Regions from separate parts of the Homo sapiens genome. Here all the other regions are linked to region 1. Evidence: promoter capture Hi-C in human tissues and cell types (Jung and others, 2019). All regions are on one chromosome and are shown on one strand. Each heading gives the region's core, a stretch centred on a gene start or on the middle of the fragment in contact. The rest is flanking DNA. Distances are from core to core; before and after follow the strand shown.

The links. Contacts are between HindIII fragments. The study calls those that stand out against the background at their distance.
Region 2: a contact is called between a fragment that was not itself captured here and the fragment with the promoter of BCAS1 in region 1, in 1 of the 25 tissues and cell types used here (dorsolateral prefrontal cortex).
Region 3: a fragment that was not itself captured here is called in contact with the fragment with the promoter of BCAS1 in region 1 in 1 of the 25 tissues and cell types used here (lymphoblastoid cells).

Annotation. Positions count from the first base shown.
Region 1 is chr20:54,069,176-54,071,875 of GRCh38, reverse strand. BCAS1 (brain enriched myelin associated protein 1) reads left to right here and starts at 1,282. Exons shown (of 13, transcript NM_001366298.2): 1 at 1,282-1,443. RefSeq lists an enhancer at 1,689-2,563. The HindIII fragment of the contact is 15,029 bases long and covers 1-2,700 here.
Region 2 is chr20:53,522,592-53,525,291 of GRCh38, reverse strand. It overlaps LOC105372671 (a long non-coding RNA gene), which reads left to right. Exons shown (of 4, transcript XR_001754720.2): 1 at 1-416; 2 at 527-638. Among named protein-coding and RNA genes, the nearest start is that of TSHZ2-AS1, 20 kb to the right of the region's middle. The HindIII fragment of the contact is 7,259 bases long and covers 1-2,700 here.
Region 3 is chr20:53,219,859-53,222,558 of GRCh38, reverse strand. The region is part of intron 1 of TSHZ2 (teashirt zinc finger homeobox 2); the gene reads right to left. Among named protein-coding and RNA genes, the nearest start is that of TSHZ2, 250 kb to the right of the region's middle. The HindIII fragment of the contact is 3,752 bases long and covers 1-2,700 here.

The DNA.
Region 1 (2,700 bases), core at 33-2,532:
TGTCTGTCTCAACCCAGGGCCAGAGCTCAAGCTCCTGAGCCTCCAGGCTTGGGTCAGCACAGAGCGTGTGCATGGCAGCTGCTTAATAATTGGGTTTACTACATTCCAGATTGACATGTACAGTGCTGAGCTGGAATCGACTTTACAACCCTAATTACGGTGTGCCTGGTTGTGTATTCAGCATTTATTTAAATAGTATTTTTTTTCTTAAATGTTGATTTCTGAAAGAGGCCTTCCCCAGCTCTCTCTATTTCTCTCCCTTAGCTGCCTTGGCTTTTCTTTTATAATGAGAATCACACCCTGTAATTCTATGTTTATATTTACAGGATTCTATGTCCAATGACACTGAGTGCAAGAAGGGTAGAGACCCAGCATCTTTTACTCACCTCTTTAAACTCTGGCTTATATATATAGCCTGGTGCTTGACAAGTATTCATGATAGGGGTTAAGCTGAGTATACTGTTGAATAAAACCACAATAATTATTGGTCGCAATTCTCTTGAATGTCTTCTCCAGAGCACTAAGTAGTGTAACTTATCAAGTTTCCTTTCTTGCATTGGCTGTTAGGAAGCTCAAAGCCATATCTGCAAACCCTTCATAGCAAGTCTGTAAATCAACAAGAGCATTTATTTTTGATCCTGTTCTCATTTGATGTTCCAAATTTTGTTCTTCAATCTTCTTTTGTTACATGTTATTTCATGCTCTCATAATCTATTGTATATGTCCTTGTAAGACACTTTAAACAACATCCTTGCTTGAATTAAATAAATTGCATAGCCTGTCGAATTTCTGGCCTGCAAAGAAAAAGAATGCCCTTTCCAACATCATGGTATGTCTCCAGAGCAATAAACCACCCTCAGGTTACCTGATTTCTGGTGTCCAAACCCCTTTGGGAATAAGGTTTACATGACTAGGGGTAGTTGAGTGGATGAGAAGCTATTTCCTTCCAATTAGGTGGTTAGGTGGTGGTGGAGGTGGTGTTCTGAAGTCAGCAGACAGAACTACAAAATCTCACAGAACGTGTTTTCCCTGCTCTGACCATGACCTACGGTTACTGGGGAAGGAAACTGCTTCCCCAGGTCAACCCGGCAGCCTCAGTAGGTGAGGGGCACTGGGTAGAATACTTGGGGTGCCAGGGAGGCATTAATGCGAGAGGAGTCAGGTGCTCAGTTTTTATTGGAGTTGGGAGGGCAGCCCCACATCAGGAAGAGAACCTGTTTCTGCAGGATGGTCCGGGGAGAAGGGAGGACTCCACCCAGGCTTGTGTTTGCCCTGCTCTGTGTATTCAGCCAGCAGGCTCTGCACAAGGAAGCAAAGTGCAGGGAGCCAGGCTCCACCGACAGCCAGGCACTGGGCAGCACGCACTGGAGACCCAGGACCCTGTGCAGGAGCAGCTCCGGGTGACACGAGGGGACTGAAGATACTCCCACAGGGGCTCAGCAGGTAACTGCTTTCAGATCCTTTAGGCATGGCTGGAGGGTTTGCTGTTTGTGGTAGACGGTGTCATATAGAGGCCAGGGGTCAGACAGGGTCAAGTTTGATCCCAGCTCTGCCTTCTGTTCACTGTGTGGCCTTGGATATGTGTAAGCCTCAGTTCCACTATCTGTGAAATGGACCCAAAGATAGCACTCATCTCAAAGTTTTTAGTTTTACAAGGAGCAAATGACAATGTGGTCAGTGTTAGGCGCATAGCCACATAAATAACTCCTATTTGGTGGAACTATTGAGGGTCATTTCAAGCACAGGACATGGGGAGAAGTCACTGGATGGAGGGATAGGCTGTGTGATTTGGGGATCCGTCAGGGCAAGAATGCCCCATAGCCGAGTGGAATCTGAGCCTTCACCTCAGGCATTGCCTAAAGAAGTGGGAGGACAAGAAAAAGGACTTGTGGAGTGCCTTTTGTGAATCTTATTTAACGCTCAAGACCACCCTATGAGGCAGCTGCTGATTCAAATCCTGGCTTCAGGACCCCTGCTGTTTACATCTCCCTCTGAACCAGTTTCCTGCCTGGAAGAGTCATTGCGATTAGAATGCGGGTGCGCTGCAGCCACACCGCCAGATGCCAGCCCCAGCTCCACCCTGGGCTGGCTGGGTGCCCTGGAGCAGGTTCCCTCAGCCCTCTGGGCCTCAGTTTCCTCATCTGTAAAGTGAACCTAATAACAGTACTGAGATCAAAGGGCTGAGAGGACTCTACTGCCCGTAAATACCTGTGCACTTAGTAACTCTTAGCTGTGGTTCTTGTTTTCGCTGTTACCATCGTCTCCATTTTACAACTAGGAACATGAAGCTGGGTGAAGAGGGAGCTGCATCTGGTTCCAGGTCTCATGGAAAGGATGCTGTGGAACTGGAGTCCAGTCGGGCCTGGGATGAGGGTGCAGCCAGTGAGACTCTCACCTTGGGCACGAAATGTAAGGGATGCCAAAAAACTCAGTCATGGAGATAAACGGTATGTTAACACAACATTTTTAAAAGTCAGAATTAATGGCAAGACACCCGTGATGAACAAACTATGAACATGTTACAGAAAGATAAGATCAGGAACAGCGGTAATTTTGATTTTCACAAATTTCATGTTAAAATACTATTCATCTCCATGGCTGAGCTTTTTGGTGTCCCTTACATTGTTCCCCCGGAGTCCAGGGCCTGATCCGCCTCAGCCTCCTGGGGATCCTGAGCTGATCACAGCAGCTTCAGGCCCT
Region 2 (2,700 bases), core at 94-2,593, 550 kb after region 1:
TGTTGCTGGAAGTCGCTCCACAGCTGGCAGATGAGCTGGCTGGGAAGATACAAGGTGGCTGCACTCACTATTGGGGGCCCTAGCTCGGATGCCTGCCAGGCTGGGCTCAGCTGGGACTGCCTCCTACACGTGGCCTCTCCAGCATGGTGACGTCACGGAAGCCTCAGACTCCTCACACAGATGCTGGATTCCCCGGAGGGAGTGTTTCCAGGGGTCCCCTGCAGAATCAGCAAGCAACGCTTCTGACACCTGCCTCGGAAGGGCCAGAGCACCTCTGCTGTTGTGGTCCATTGGCAAGCCAATCACTAAGGCTGGCCTGTACTCAAAGGAAGAATTAGATCCCACCTCTCCATGGGCCGCGCAGCAGATAATTCGGGGTCTTGGTTAATCTACCATGTTCTTTCTCTCCACTGCAGGTGTGTTAAACCGGAGGCCACTGGGTCTCTTGGACAACTAGCAGTGAATCTGTGAATCCCCTGAGTGCACAGTTTTAAATAAATGTGCAAAATGTGCATTTTTTTTTCAGGGAAATCTGAACTAACAAGATTTTGAATCACTCACCAAATGGCGGTCTTCCTTTTAACTGAGTCTTATCTCATCCTACTACAAAAATTTCCCAAGAAAATGTGAAGAGTCTTGTAAGTCTTTCCAATAATATAGAAAAACAAAAGTAATCCTTTAATTCCCTGCCTTGCCCAGTCCTGTCCCCTCCTCGAAAATAATCCTTGCTATGAATTGATGTGTATTTTTCATGATGTTTTCCCATGCATTGCATAGATAAGTAAGGTTTTAAAAAATACAAATAGCTTCATTCTCTTCCCACTTTTTTCCTGTAACTTGGTTATTTTTCACTTTTAACATTATGTATAGGGAATGAGTTCATGCTTGTAGTTCTAGACTTATCCCATGTTGAGGAATAGCCTCCTTGAACTCAGCCAGTGAACAATCTGTAATGCAGTACCTGCACCTGTTCCTCTACCAATTCACCTGCCTCCTGTTGTCAATTTTCCACACTTGCCAGCAGTGGTGCTGTAAACAGCCTCGCTTTACCTCCTTGTGCACATGTGAGAGTAATTCTCTTGGTAGGTACCTAGAGGTGGAATTGTCAGATAATTAGATATGTGCAATACAATTAGATTTTTTTATGTTACTTTAAGTTCTAGGATACATGTGCTGAACATGCAGGTTTATTAATAGGTATCCATGTGCCATGGTGGTTTGCTGCACCTATCAATCCGTCTTCTAGGTTTTAAGCTCTGCATGCATTAGGTATTTGTCCTAATGCTCTCCCTCCCCTTGCCCCCACCCCCTGATAGGCCCTGGTGTGTAATGTTCCCCTCCCTGTGTCCATGTGTTCTCACTGTTCAGCTCCCACTTATGAGTGAGACCATGCGGTGTTTGGTTTTCTGTCCTTGTGTTAGTTTGCCAAGGATGATGGTTTCCAGCTTCATCCATGTCCCTGCAAAGGACATGAACTCTTTCTTTTTTTATGGCTGCATAGTATTCCATGGTGTATATGTGCCACATTTTCTTATCCAGTCTATCTTTTTCTAATTTTTCTTTCTGAGATGGAGTCTTGCTTTGTCATCCAGGCTGGAGGGCAGTGGTGCAATCTTGGCCCACTGCAACCCTTGCTTCCCAGGTTCAAGCGATTCTCCTGCCTCAGCCTCCTGAGTAGCTGAGACTACAGGTGCCCACCACCATGTCCGGCTAATTTTTGTGTTTTTTTAAGTACGGATGGGGTTTCACCATGTTGGCCAGGCTGGTCTAGAACTCCTGACCTCAAGTGATCTGCCTGCCTTGGCCTCCCAAAGTGCTGGGATTACAGGCGTAAGCCACTGTGCCCGGCCCAGTTTTCATCTTTTTAATTGACGATAAAATGATTTACGTTGCATGACATGGGCTCACTGGTAACAGTGGATGTCATGTGTAGTGCCTGGCACATTGTATGTTCTCAAGAAAGCTTCCTTTTTTTTTTTTTTCTGAGATGGAGTTTTGCTCTTGTCGCCTAGGCTGGAGTGCAATGGCACCATCTCAGCTCACTGAAACCTCTGCCTCCTGGGTTCAAACGACTCTCCTGCCTCAGCCTCCCGAATAGCTGGGATTAAAGGTCCCACCACTGCGCCTGGCTAATTTTTGTATTTTTAGTAGAGACGGAGTTTCACCATGTTGGCCAGGCCCATCTCGAACTCCTGACATCAGGTGATCCACCCACCTCAGCCTCCCAAAGTGCTGGGATTATAGGCGTGAGCCACCATGCCCAGCCGAAAACTTTCTTTACAGGTTATTTCTGTTTGTGGCTTAGTCTCTCTCTGACAGGAAAAGGCTGTGCAATAGAAGGGAAGGTGTGCTTTGACCTTCAGGCTGTCATTTCCCCAGCCCAGCTCATGGGCTTCTGGTGGAATTCACTCTAACCCTGAGTCCAGGGGTGGACCTGGGATGCAGGGATTGGTAATCAGAACGTCATATTCCTCTCGCCAGTCACTGGTTCGGGGATAAGCATGTGACCCATTCAGAACAATGGCCAGGAAAATGCCACATGAGGAAGAGCTGGGATTAGTCTCAGCTCTTTCTGGGTTGCCTGGGGCACACAGGGGAGGAATGAACCAGAACAAAGTCAGAGTCTGCTATTAAGAAGGAAAGAGGCCAGGCGCGGTGACTCTCCCCTGTAATCCCAGCTCTTTGGGAGGCCGAGGTTGG
Region 3 (2,700 bases), core at 132-2,631, 850 kb after region 1:
ACGCATTTTTGCACATGGTATTCCAGACTTTGCGAAGGGCATGAAAGGCTCCCATTGATTAGGAGAGGCTTAGAGTGGCACGCCTTCTTCAGGAAGATCCACATTTTAAGCACCTGCTGGTGGTGACATTCATAAATCTTTGTCGATTAACTGGACCTGCACTTGATGAATTTTGCTCTCACTGCTGGTCTGCATTGAGGTACACCACTGAAAGCTGAGTGTCTGTAGAGAGGCAAGAATGTTGAAGATTTCAAGGGTTGGTGGCAACAGTGTCCCAGAGGGAGAAAATAAAGCAATGCCACCCTTGGGTACTTGGAGACAGAATTCTAAAGTCATTTGTCAGAAGAGGTAAAATTTGTGGGGAGGAGGGGTAGAGTGGACTGCTGGGAATTTTTGTACAGACCCAGATGTTTTCCTGGAAATAGGAAAAAGAATGGTCTCTATCCTCTTTTTATATCTTTTAGCCTAAATATTATAAGAAGTAAGAGCTAGCTTTTGACCATTAGCCATCCAAATACTTAGGGACATGTATCCCTTAAAATACAATGCCAGTATGAAAGTCATTACCCTGGTCAGTTTCTTATTTCGCCTAACTTCACGCATCTGTAAGGCATTAGCAGTTGCAAGAGATTGATATGATAGTTTGTGAGTAATTTGAATGAACTATAACACTAACCCAGTAAAGTATTATAATTTTAAATGTGTCCAGAAAATAATTGAAATTCTGGCTTAGCTTCATCATAATGCAAACTGCTGGTTATACTTAACAGCTGAGTAGCTTAGCATGAATATTGCTTTAGAAATGGGGTCATTTTGTTTTTACGAAACAATATTGCTCTCAAACACGTTTAGGAGGGGAAAAAAAGCAAGTGATTATGAGTATACTTTTAACCTTTCTGTCTCTTTCTATCTGTGTTTACCAAGATGATTTAGGTGTTTGGTGTTGTCTGAAGGCAGACACAGAAGGTGCTGGCATTTGAAACAGACCCAGTAACAAGCCCTTGGCCATCAGATTTCTTCTTATACCACTCCGTCACAAAACCTCTGTTCTCTAGCAATCCATTTTCCTGTAGCCTGATCAGAAACAAGAAAGATAAGGACATTCCCTGCTGACCCAGAAGATAACAAAAATAGGTGGCCCCTATAGATACCCACAGTATTTATTTTTAAATGTAGTTACCAACACTTAAAAAATTGAGATTTCACATGAAAATCCAGATTGATGAGTGCTCATTGTATTAGCTCATTCTCATGCTGCTGATAAAGACATACCTGAGACTGGGTAATTTATAAAGGAAGGAGGTTTAATGGACTCACAGTTCTACATGGCGGGGGGGGCCTCACAATCATGGCAGAAGACAAAGGAAGAGCAAAGGGATGTCTTACATGGAGGCTGGCAAGGTGAGAATAAGAGCCAAGCAAAAGGGGTTTCCCCATATAAAACCGTCAGATCTCATGAGACTTATTCACTACCACGAGAACAGAATGGGGGAAACCACCCCTATGATTCAGTTATCTCCTACTGGGTCCCTCCCACAACACGTGGGAATTATGGGAAATTCAAGATGAGATTGGGTGGGGACACAGCCAAACCATATCATTCATGAATCAGAAGGTTTGGGAATACTGGGTCTACATTCCTGCCAGATGGCAATCTCTGAGCTTAGCAGATGCTGTCACCTTGAGATGCAGAACAAGCACTCCAGTTCACAACAGTTTTCTCATGGCCTGCTGTGTTTAATTTTTCTTCTTTCTATAATCATTTGAGTTTTTGATTCCTGGTACCCATTATCATTTTCTTAGTCCTTCATTCACAAAATACCCTACAAGGTGCCACAGGATGCATGACCGGCCCCTCACATCCGGGAGCAGTCAGCAAGCTTTTTCTGTGAAGGACCACATAGTAGACATTTGAGGCTTTGTGGTACATACGGCATCTGGTACAACGACTCAGCTGTGCTGTCTTAGCGTGATACCAGCCATAGACAATGCATCAATAAAGGGGCACAGCTGTGTCCCAATAAAATTGTGTCCATAAAAATAGGTTGGCCCATGAGCTAACCCTGACATGGGAGAAAAACAAAAAACACAAACAAACAAAAAAACTGGCCCTTAATCAGTAACCCTGTAGAGGAATTTTCTCATCAACAGGGAGCTTTCAATAGATGTGAGGCTAATTCTTCCCAAGTCAGTGCTCAAACTCTTAAAGCCCCACCTTTAGACAAGTGTGTGTGTATGAACGTGTGTATGTATGTGACTTAGCTCCTTCTTCATTTTTTCATTCTGAAATATTCACTGACTCTTAGTAGCTTTTTGCTCCAATTACCCCAAAGACTTTCCTCCAAGAAAAATGAAAGTTTAAAATCTGTTCCTTCATGGCAAGTTAGCTAAATGCGTTATTTTGATAATGAGGTTAAGAAGGGGTTTCCACTGAGAATGAAGGGTCATGGTAAGGAAAAATCTGAGAGCCCTCATTGTTCTTCATTTCAGAGGAAAGTGGTTTTCTTGTCTTATCTCACAGTCAGGCTTCACCTTAGCTTGTTCAATGGTGTGGATGTGAATGCTAGCTCTCTGTCTCTGTTTTTCGAGTATCCCTTGACAGATCTCCAGTTTCCTTTTGCAAAATCGAGGAGTCAACACTATATTAGAGGTGTCTAACTGGTAAATTTGAACCAAATGTGGATCCACATACATATTTAG